Regions from separate parts of the Homo sapiens genome. Here region 2 is linked to region 1. Evidence: promoter capture Hi-C in 16 types of primary human blood cells and fetal thymus (Javierre and others, 2016). All regions are on one chromosome and are shown on one strand. Each heading gives the region's core, a stretch centred on a gene start or on the middle of the fragment in contact. The rest is flanking DNA. Distances are from core to core; before and after follow the strand shown. Region 1 holds the start of BMERB1 (bMERB domain containing 1). Region 2 overlaps NDE1 (nudE neurodevelopment protein 1).

Region 1 (5,705 bases), core at 903-3,402:
GGAGATACAGAGTAGAATGATGGTTACCAGAGGCTGGGGAGGGTATTGGGATGGGGGGACACAGAGATGGTTAATGGGTACAAAAATATAGGTAGATAGAATGAATAAGATCTAGTATCTGATAGCACAACACGATGACTACAGTCAACAATTTATTGTACATTTAAAAATAACTAAAAGAGGGCAGGTGGGGTGCCTCACACCTGTAATCCCGGCACTTTGGGAGGCCAGGGCAGGCCGATCACCTGAGGTCAGGAGTTCGGGACCAGCCTGCCCAACATGGTGAAACCCCATCTCTACTAAAAATACAAAAGTTAGCCAGGCATGGTGGCGAGCACCTGTAATCTCAGCTACTCTGGAGGCTGAGGCAGGAGAATCGCTTGAACCCAGGAAGTGGAGGTCGCAGTGAGCCGAGATTGTGTCATTGCACTCCAGTCTGGGCAACAAGAGCGAAACTCCGTCTCAAAAAAAAAAAAAAAAAAGCTAAACTAAAAGAGTATAATTAGTCACACAGCTGGGCTTTTTTAAAAAAGGAGTGTAATTGGATTGTTTGTAACACAAAAAAAAGGATAAATGCTTGAGGTTTTGGATACCCCGTTTACCCTGATGTGATTATTACACATTGTATGCCTGTATCAAAATATCTCATGTATTCCATAAATATGGACACCCACTATGTGCACTTAAAAATTAAAGAAAGAAACAGAGACCCTCAGCCCTGACGCCCTGATATTATGCCAAAGCACCAAGTCATTGGGTCTTGAAAGGATGAACTAGAAAGAAAGACCAAGGTTAAAAAGGGAGAAAAAAAAAGAAAAGGAAAGAGGTTGGCAGTGCTATGACATCCATCCTAGCCCATGAACCACTAAGACATTGGATTGTGATTTCAACTTCAACCCGTCAGAATCAGAACACAGTTGAGCCCTTCTAGGAAGATTTTCTAAATCCATAATTACAGGTATAGAGAAAGAAAGCGCGCACACACAATTTTCCACCAGGTGAGGACAGAATAAGATCACATTCACAATACTTTAGCCCTACATCGCTCAGAGATCCGTGCTGGGGCAGAGCGCGGAGCAGTGACCCAGAGCCGAGGCAGGAAGCTGCCGGGTCCCTGAGAAGGACCTCTCCTTCCCAGCCTGGTGGGCAAGCCATGTGAGAGCAGCGGCTTTGGGGAGCCCCCGGGTTTGCAGGGACCTCCAGTGACCCTGGAGCCCCTGACGCTGCCTCTACACTTTGAGGGCAGGAGTTTCAACTATTGTATCCTATTAATGAAAAACAAAATCCTTCGTTTACTTAGAAATGTTGACATCCAAACACCGCAGAGAGAACCAGTAAATAAATACAGCCGGTCTATTTCGAAACTGCCTTCTAGAGTTGTGCCCAAGCAGACTTTAACTGAGTCAAGAGAGAAAAGAGAACGGTGTGTGCCTTTTGACCCTTTTGCCGCCCCAAGCCTCCCACCCCGACCCAAGGAAGGCGAGGGAGGAAAAGCTGGGAATTTCAGGTGCGCTCCGAAACCTCACGCAGGGGGTAGGAAAGCAAGCGGAAAACCAGCAGACACTCCCCCCTCTCCAGGGACGTGGGCGCTTTCCAGGACGGTCCCGCGTCTCCAGCGCCCTGGCGCATCCCAGGCGGAGAGAGGATCCTCCTCCCTGGGCTGTGGGAGAGACCCGACTTCACAGGACCAGCTGCGAGCTGACGGATCCGGGACTCCTAAGTCGAGCCCAGGCTCCTGCCTTAGCTGCCTGGCCATCTCCCAACCCTCCCAGTGAGGCTCAGCCCGGAGGGTCCCCCCCTTTTGTTCGCGGGGAGAGCGCGTCGCTGCGCAGAGCTGCGTATCCCCCTGAGCTGCCAGCCCCGCTGCGGGGGCGCTTCCCTGGGTCCACTGCTGGCGTTCCTCGCGCTCCCGCGACCACCCGCGCAGGCGCATGGATCCCCAGCTGTCCCCGGCCCCCCGCCCCCCGCCCCAGTACTCACTTCTCCCCAGTCTCTCCGTTTTCCAAGCCGTCTCCTCCACCGCCCCATAGCGCCTCAGAGGCTTCTCGGCTTCCAGATGGGTGGACAAAGATTGCTTTAATTCCATCGCTGATCCCCGTGGCCAGGTCGACGGGTCTCCCTTTACTCCATTCCCGTTGCGGGCTGCAGGGAGGGAGGTGGCTCCAGCCAGCAGCGTTTTAACGGGCCGGGCGCCCGTGACGCTGCTCCCTCTCCTCCGCCGCCGCCAGCGCCCGGGAGCGCCTACGGGTACCCAGAAGGGGCAGGGATGCACGGCACATGCGCAGTGGAGGCTTGGAGGGGAGGCTTGGGGGCTGGGTAGGGAGACAGAGGGGCAGGTGATAACTCTAAGAAAAACAACAAACAAAACAACTAAAATAAAAGCAACACAAAGGAAGTGAGAACAAGGCCCCTGCCTATTCTAGAGCCCCTAGTGATGCTTGGCATGGGGCTGGCACTGTGGGCGGCTTGCGAGCTGTAAGCCGGCAGCGGGTTTTGAGTGGGATTGGTGAGCCCGTCTCTACCTGCGGGCGATGCATCCGTCTTTCTGGGGAGCATGCAGAGGCGTGAGTGTGGACCTAGATCTATGGGTTCTGGGCTTGGCTGACTGCTTTTCTGTGAGAATATCTGTCGTGTGCGTCTGTTTAATTTGAAGTGCGACAGTGGATGCCTATGTCAGTTCCATATGTGTTTGCATGCACTTTGGGGAGAGAGAGAGAGAGATGAAAATATTTTGCACACAGGTATAGCAGAGCTGTTTGGAGCATGGGGCTTTACTTTCCAGAAACCCCAGAGGTTTATCTTTAAAAACAAACAAACAAACAAACAAAAAACACCATGGCAGTGCCTGGGCACGATGGCTCATGCCTGTAATCCCAGCACTTTGGGAGGCCGAGGTGGGTGGATCACTTGAGGCCAGGAGTTTGAGACTAGCCTGGCCAACATGGTGAAACCCCATCTTTACTGAAAATACAAAAATTAGCCAGCTGTGATGGCGCAGGCCTGTAATTCCAGCTACTCGGGAGGCTGAGGCAGGAGAATCGCTTGAACCTGGGAGGCAGAGGTTTCAGTCATCCGAGATCATGCCATTGCACTCCAGCCTGGGCAACAAGAGGAAAACTCCGTCTCAAAAAAAGAAAAGAAACGAAAAAAAGAAAATGATATCCCAGTAGGAAACAGGGAAAGAATATGAATAGTCATGTCATGTGGGCAGAGGAGGAAGGCCTAATGTGAGAAGCTGCTCAACCCCCTTAGTAATAAGGAAAATGAAAATGTAAATAAGAATATATCATCCGATAGGCAAAAACTAAAAAATCTAACAATCATGTGTTGTAAAAGATGTGGATTTTTTTTTTGAGACAGAGTCCAAAAATGCTGGGGTTACAGATGTGAGACACCATGCCTGGCATAATTTGAACTTTTATCTAATGCTAGTGGGAGTATAAATTGGTACAACTGTTTTTTTCTCTCTGTCACCCAGGCTGGAGTGCAGTGGCATAGTCTCGGCTCACTGAAACCTCCACCTCCTGGGTTCAAGCTCCTGAGTAGCTGCGACTACAGGCGTGCCACCATGCCCAGCTAATTTTTTGTATTTTTAATGGAGATGTGGTTTCACCATGTTGGCCAGGCTGGTCTCGAACTCCTGAGCTCAAGTGATCTGCCCGCCTTGGTCTCCCAAAGTGCTGAGACTACAGGAATGAGCCACTGTGCCTGGCTGCATGAATGTAATGTTTATTGTTCTCAGGTATATATGTATAACTCTACAAATTATATATAATAGCGCTATTTAACATTTTCTTATAATTTATACAAATGATATCATACTTTATAATTCTGCAAGTTGCTTTTTTCTGTTGTTGTTCCACAATATGCTTTTCTTCCTTTTAAAAAGATAGAGACAGGTTTTCACTGTGTTGCTCAGGCTGGTCTTGAATTCCTGGGCTCAAGTGATCCACCTGCCTCAGCCTGCCAAAGTGCTAGGATTACAGGCGTGAGCCACCGTGCCCGGCCCACATTATGCTTTTGAGAAATACGAATTCTGATTCATGTAACTCTGGTTCATAGTCTACTGTATAGTATTCTACATGAATGAACCATAATTGGTCTATTTTTTCATTGATGAGGTATAAAGATTATTCCCAATTGTCCACAATTACAAACATGGCAGCAGCAAATGTTTTTATACTCATTTCCCTGTACGACTGAATAGGAGTTTTTCTAGGGGGAAAAATTACAATGGCATGGGGTATGCACATCTGCCAGTTGGACTAGAGTGTCAACCTGCTTTTAAAATTAGTTGTACCAGGCCAGGCACAGTGGCTCACGCCTGTAATCCCAGCACTTTGGGAGGCTGAGGCGGGCGGTTAGTCTGAGGTCAGGAGTTCGAGACCAGCCTGGCCAACATGCTGAAACCCCGTCTCTACTAAAAATACAAAAAAAAAAAAAAAAAAAAAAATTAGCCGGGCCTGGTGGCGCACACCTGTAATTCCAGCTACTCAGGAGGTTGAGGCAGGAGAATCACTTGAACCCGTGGGACGGAGGTTGCAGTGAACTGAGATCATGACACTGCACTCCAGCCTCAGTGACAGTGAGACGCTGTCTCAAAAAAAAAAAAAAAAAACAATAAACATTACATTCAGGATAGTAATTACTTTAGGAGGCTGGGAAAGGGTAAGTAGTTAGTTTCAGCTATATCTAAAATTTATATATTTTTAAACTATTTACAGTATTTTGAAAATTTTTAAATCTACAGAAAAGTTGCAAGTTTAGTACAATAAGAAAAATACAGACCTTGGCCAGGTGCGGTGGCTCATGCCTATAATCCCAGCACTTTGGGAGGCTAAGGTGGGAGGAATCCTTGAGCTCAGGAGTTCGAGACCAGCCTGGGCAGCAAAGCAGTTTTCCATCTCTACAAAAATTAAAACATTAACCAGGTGTGGTGGCACACACCTATAATTCCAGATACTCAGGAGGCTGAGGTAGGAGGACTGCTTGGGCCTGGGAGGTCGAGGCTACAGTGAGGCAAGACCACACCACTCTACTCCAACCTAGATGACAGAGTGAGACCCTGTCTCCAAAATACACACACACACACATATATATATATAGTTTGTGTGTGTATATATACAGTATGTGTATATATACGTTATTTTATATAATATGTATGTTATTTTCTTGTATATGTGTGTGTATATATACAATATATATATATATACACACGCACACACATCCCTTACTAGATTCACTAATGAATATTTAAATTTATATTTCTTAAAAGAGATCTGAAGCATATATGTTAAAATCTGTTGGAGATGGCTGGTGGGCACTACACCCTTACCAGAATGACTAAAATTAAAAAGACTGACAATACCAAATGTTAGTCCAGATGCTAGTAAATAAATGAGTTAGCAGTTAGTAAGAATGTAACTACAATTTATTGCTGTTCGGAGTATAAAATGGTACTACCACTTTAGAAAATGAGAGATAATGGCTGGGCGTGGTGACTCACGCCTGTAATCCTAGCACTTTAGGAGGCTGAGGTGGGCGGATCACCTGAGGTCAGGGGTTCAAGACCAGCCCAACATGGCAAAACCTCGTCTGTGCTAAAAAAATTCAAAAATTAGCCAGGCGTGATGGCACATGCCCGTAATCCCAGCTACTCAGGAGACTGAGGCAGGAGAATCGCTTGAACCCGGGAGGCAGAGATT
Region 2 (5,705 bases), core at 2,322-4,821, 220 kb before region 1:
CCAGCCTGGGTGACAGAGTGAGACTTCCTCTCAAAAAAAAAAAAAAAAAAAAAAAAAAAAAGATTGTGTGCAAGGTCCCTTCCTTCCCTCAAGAGAACTTAGAGGCTGGTGTGTATCCCTGGGGACAAAAGAATGAGCAAAAACCATCACTTTCTAAGATATAACCAACAAGCTATATAGTTTTGGTTAAAACATGAAATCATTAGGCTAAACATGTAAGTGTCAACACAGACACCACCACTAACTTCTGGTGGAAGTTAGTGAGCCTCACCCATGTTGAGCCAATGACAGAGGTGGGCCTAATTCATGCAGAACCAGGAAATGCACAATTGTACCTAGATTCAAGCACAAAACTTACCGATAACTCTGCATTTGTTGGGACTCATATTCACATCCTTTCTCCCTCCTACTTTTTCAATCCTTTCCCTCATTCAGAGAAAACATGCTATTTCCCGACCCACTCATCCCTCTGGAAAGCAGATTCTCTGAAAGTTTGATCAAGGCAGAAAGGCGAAATGTCATACAAAGCTGGCCAGACGTGGTGGCTCATGCCTGTAATCTCAACACTTTGGGAAGCTGAGGCAGGCAGATGACTTGAGGTCAAGAGTTCAAGACAAGCTTGGCCAACATGGTAAAATCCTGTCTACACTAAAAGCACAAAAATTAGCTGGGTGTGGTGGCAGGCACCTATGATCCCAACTACTCGGGAGGCTAAGGCATGAGAATCGCTTGAACCCGGGAGCCAGAGGTTGCAGTGAACCACGATCACACCACTGCACTCCAGCCTGGGCAACAGAGCAAGACTCCATTTCAAAAACATATAAACAAAAAATAAATAAATGTCATATAAAGCTAATGATTTGTAGTTTTGCTTGTTTTTTCCAGACATGCATTCATTTTTCCATCTTCTGTGACAGCACAATATTCCCTTGGGAGAATACCCTACTCATTTCATGAGTTCAGAGGGATCTGACATCATCCTCCACACCTGGGAAGAGGCATATGCCTATTCACGACCTTAGTGATCAGCTCATGGGTGGGCCTAACCCACGATGAGCCAGTGACAGAGGTGGGCCTAATTCACGCAGAGCCAATGATAGGGTGAGCCTAACCCCCATGCTCAGCCAGTGACAGTCACGGATCTAACCCATGCTGAGCCAATGATTGGCTTAAGGATGGGCCTAACCCATACTAAGCCAGTGAGGGCCCAGGTCCAGACCTTTTGCATAGCTGTCAAAAATGAAACTCTCTTTCCACTAGGGTTGGTAAGGTAAGCCTGAAGCTGGAGGTAAGCCTGAAGCCGGAGGTAAGCCTGAAACTGCCGGTGGTCATCTTGCTATCACAAGGGAGAGCCTGCCTCAGAGTGAAGCCAAAACAGAGGAAAGCTGGGCCAAGGGATGGAGAGCCTGGGTCCTGACAATATCATTTGAACACCTAGATGCAGCCACACCTGATTTAAGGTTATGAGATAATCAATTCCTTGTCTTGGTTATACCAGTTGGGGTTAGATTTCTGCCACGCAGGAATCTTAATGAATGTATGGAATCAACGACCTTACTTGCTCAAAGTCAAAAGGGTAGAGTGGTGCCTGGCGCAATGGCTCATGCCTGTAATCCCAGCCCTTTGTGAGGCCGAGGCAGACAGATCACTTGAGGTCAGGAGTTTGAGACCAGCCTGGGCAACATGGTGAAACCCCGTGTCTACTAAAAAAACAAAAACAAAAATCAAACGGGCACGGCGGTGCGTGCCTGTAGTCCCAGCTACTCAGAAGGATGAAGCAGGAAAAATCACTTAAGCCTGAGAAGCGGAGGCTGCAGTGAGCCAAGATCACTGCATTCCAGCCTCCCAGCCTGGGCGACAGAACAAGACCCCATCTCAAAAAAATAAAAAGGGGGTAGAGTGTTAATAGCAGTCATTAACAAGGCCAGGAGCAGCATAAACCTAGGCCAAGGAGTCCCTGCTCAAGCCATAAGCTCTAATGAGCCCAGATCTCATGTAATATGTACTCATCAAACCAATTCTATAGCAACAATAGCCCAGGGCCAAGGCATCTATCAATGAGCACTGTGTGGCCATTAAGATATTGGTGGCTGGGTGCGTTGGCTCATGCCTGTAATCCCAACACTTTGGGAAGCCAAGGCGGGTGGTTCACCTGAGGTCAGGAGTTCAAGACCAGCCTGGCCAACATGGTGAAACTCCATTTCCACTAAAAATACAAGAAATTAGCCAGGTGTGGTGGCAGGCTCCTGTAACCCCAGCTACTCGGAAGACTGAGGCAGGAAAATCGCTTGAACCCAGGAGGCGGAGGTTGCAGTGAGCCAAGATCACGCCATTGCACTCCAACCTGGACGACAAGAGTGAAACTCTGCCTCAAAAAAAAAAAACAAAAAAAGACATTGGTGATACTATTGAGGGCAGTCTCAGTCCCATGGTATGGAAGGTTGTCAGCATACAATAAAGTGCGGAAGTGAGGAACCAGTAACAACAAAAGCAGAATGACTCCTCCTGAGGTTTGGAAAAAGATGTGCAAGATCCAATGTGATCAGGCCCCTGCATAGTTTTCTACACATTTCTTACCCTACCACCTCTCATTCACTTATGTCCCAGCCACACTGCCTTCTTTCTCTTCCTTGAACACCCAAGCCTGGCAGGGTGCTGTGGCTCATGCCTGTAATCCTGATACTTTGGGAGGCCACAGCGGGTAGATCACTTGAAGCCAGGAGTTCGAGACCAGCCTGGCCAACATGGTAAAACCCCATCTCTGCTAAAAATACAAAAATTAGCTGGGCATGGTGGCACATGCCTGTAATCCCATCTACTCAGGAGGCTGAAACAGAAGAAACTCTTGAACCCGGGAGGTGGAGGTTCCAGTGAGCAGAGATCCTGCCACTGCACTCCAGCCTGGGTGACAGAGCAAGACTCCATCTCAAAAAAAGAAAAGAGTAATAATAATAATAATAATAATAAAAGAAAAGAGCCTCTTAAAACACTGTTATCTTGGCCAGGAAGGTTTAAAAACTTAATCCTCAGGAAAGAAATGAATCTGAGATGCTTTAGGAGGTGCGTCTATTGTGGGGCAGGTTCTAATTACAACGGGCCAATGGGAGGGATCTGGTTTTGGATTTCAAGGACTGAGGAGAAAATAAGCAGAGAACTGGATTTGTATCACAGCCTGCAAAATCTTTCACTCCAACCAAGAGACAAAAACCACAGGAACAGCATTTCAACCAAAAACTCTTACATTTTAAAAGCAATCCTTAGGGAAGAGAGATGCTGGAAGCAAAGAAGGAAGAAGTAACAGCTGCACTTCACTTTATCATAAAACAGCAATCTTTTTTTTTCTTTTTCTTTATTATTATTATACTTTAAGTTTTAGGGTACATGTGCACAATGTGCAGGTTAGTTACATATGTATACATGTGCCATGCTGGTGTGCTGCACCCACTAACTCGTCATCTAGCATTAGGTATATCTCCCAATGCTATCCCTCCCCCCTCCCCCCACCCCACAACAGTCCCCAGAGTGTGATGTTCCCCTTCCTGTGTCCATGTGTTCTCGTTGTTCAATTCCCACCTATGAGTGAGAATATGCGGTGTTTGGTTTTTTGTTCTTGCAATAGTTTACTGAGAATGATGATTTCCAATTTCATCCATGTCCCTACAAAGGACATGAACTCATCATTTTTTATGGCTGCATAGTATTCCATGGTGTATATGTGCCACGTTTTCTTAATCCAGTCTATCATTGCTGGACATTTGGGTTGGTTCCAAGTCTTTGCTATTGTGAATAATGCCGCAATAAACATACGTGTGCATGTGTCTTTATAGAAGCATGATTTATAGTCCTTTGGGTATATACCCAGTAATGCGATGGCTGGGTCAAATGGTATTTCCAGTTCTAGATCCCTGAGGAATCACCACACTGACTTCTACAATGGTTGAACTAGTTTACAGTCCCACCAACAGTGTAAAAGTGTTCCTATTTCTCCACATCCTTAAAAGTATAAGATTTTTGCCTTTGCCATTCAAAAATGTCAGAGAGAGGCCGGGCACGATGGCTCACGCCTGTAATCCCAGCACTTTGGCAGACTGAGGTGGGCAGATTGCTTGAGCCCAGGAGTTTGAGACCAGCACAAGGTGAACCCCGTCTCTACTAAAAATACACAAATCAGCAGGGCGTCACGATGCACGCCTGTAGTCCCAGCACTTTGGGAGGCTGAGGTGGGTGGATTGCTTGAGCCCAGGGGTTCAAGACCAGCCTGGGCAACATGGTGAAACCCTGTCTCTACTAGAAACACAAAAATTAGCCAGGTGTGGTAGAGCGCACCTATAATTCCAGCTACTTGGGTGGCTGAGGCCCAAGAATTGCTTGAACCCAGAGGCAGAGGTTGCAGTGAGCAGAAATTGTACCACTGCACTCCAGCCTGGGCACAAGAGCAAGACTCTGTCTCAAAAAATAAATAAATAAACAACATGAAAACGTCAGAAAGTTCTATTGCAGTACTCTCTGTGGCAGAAAGCAGGCAACATGACTTGCAAGGGTTCTCTTATTTTATCAGCATTAAGTACTGAATTTGACCTTCTGTTTGCTGTGTGCTAGACATTTCAAAAATTGTTTGCAAACATTATCTTCTTTAAGCTGTGTGACTGTAAGAGATGGCTAAACAGGACAACCACTCTGTTTCTTGGAAGCAGAAACACCGTATGCCTTGGCCATCTCTAAATGTGCATGTGAGCAGCAGAGGCAAACTAGATCCAAGTTCAAGGGATCTTTGCATTCAAGTCCAAGGCTTCCCAGGGGTTGCAAACTGACTGACTGCAGATCAGATTCACTTGTTTCATTTGGTCCAGTTTTGTTTTTTTTTTTTTTGTTTTTTTTTTTTTTGAGTCGGAATCTCTTTCTCTGTTGCCCAGGCTGGAGTGCAGTGGTGTGATCTCAGCTCACTGCAACCTCTGCCTCGCAGCTTCAAGCGATTCTCCTACCTCAGCGTCCCTAGTACCTCGGATTACAGGTGCATGCCACCACGACTGGCTAATTTTTTGTATTTTTAGGAGAGACGGGGTTTCGCCACGTTGGCCAGGCTGGTCTCGATCTCCTGACCTCAGGTGATCTGCCCACCTAGGCCTCCCAAAGTGCTGGGATTACAGGTGTGAGCCATTGCACCCGGCCCTCACATAGTGTTTTAAAAGGCACTGTAATAGGCAAGTGTTAATGCCTGGTCTCAGTATATACAACTTTGCACCTGCTATCTTAAAAATGCACCCCACATGCATTTATTTCATCTGTGTGCCACTAACCTGCGTTCTTAATACGCCACCACACCATCATGCCCCAGCAGCTCTGTAGACAAATCTGATGGGATCATGCAAGGAACAATGACAAACTAGGACCCAGTGGTACAAAAAGTATCTATTTTGCACAACAGAGATCTATGCCTCCTTCAAAAATTTGTTTCCGGCCGGGTGTGGTGGCTCATGCCTGTAATCCCAGCACTTTGGGAGGGTGAGGCAGGCAGATCACCTGAGGTCAGCAGATAAGAGACCAGCCTGGGCAACATGGTGAAACCCCATCTCTACCAAAAACACAAAAAAATTAGCCAGGTGTGGTGATGCACACCTGTGGTCCCAGCTACTCAGGAGGCTGAGGTGGGAGGATCACTTGAGCATGGGAGGCGGTGGTTGCAGTGAGCCGAGATCGCCCCACAG

What was found. Contacts are between HindIII fragments. The CHiCAGO score rates a contact against its expected background, and 5 or more counts as called.
Region 2: a fragment that was not itself captured here is called in contact with the fragment with the promoter of BMERB1 in region 1 in 1 of 17 cell types (neutrophils); the score reaches 6.0 in neutrophils.

Annotation. Positions count from the first base shown.
Region 1 is chr16:15,431,035-15,436,739 of GRCh38, reverse strand. It overlaps BMERB1 (bMERB domain containing 1), which reads right to left and starts at 2,152. Exons shown (of 6, transcript NM_033201.3): 1 at 1,981-2,152. The coding sequence starts at 2,086. All of the region lies in intron 1 of MPV17L-BMERB1 (MPV17L-BMERB1 readthrough), which reads right to left. RefSeq lists an enhancer at 1,226-1,848. The HindIII fragment of the contact is 15,111 bases long and covers 1-5,705 here.
Region 2 is chr16:15,653,782-15,659,486 of GRCh38, reverse strand. The region is part of intron 1 of NDE1 (nudE neurodevelopment protein 1); the gene reads right to left. Among named protein-coding and RNA genes, the nearest start is that of NDE1, 6.4 kb to the right of the region's middle. The HindIII fragment of the contact is 5,902 bases long and covers 621-5,705 here.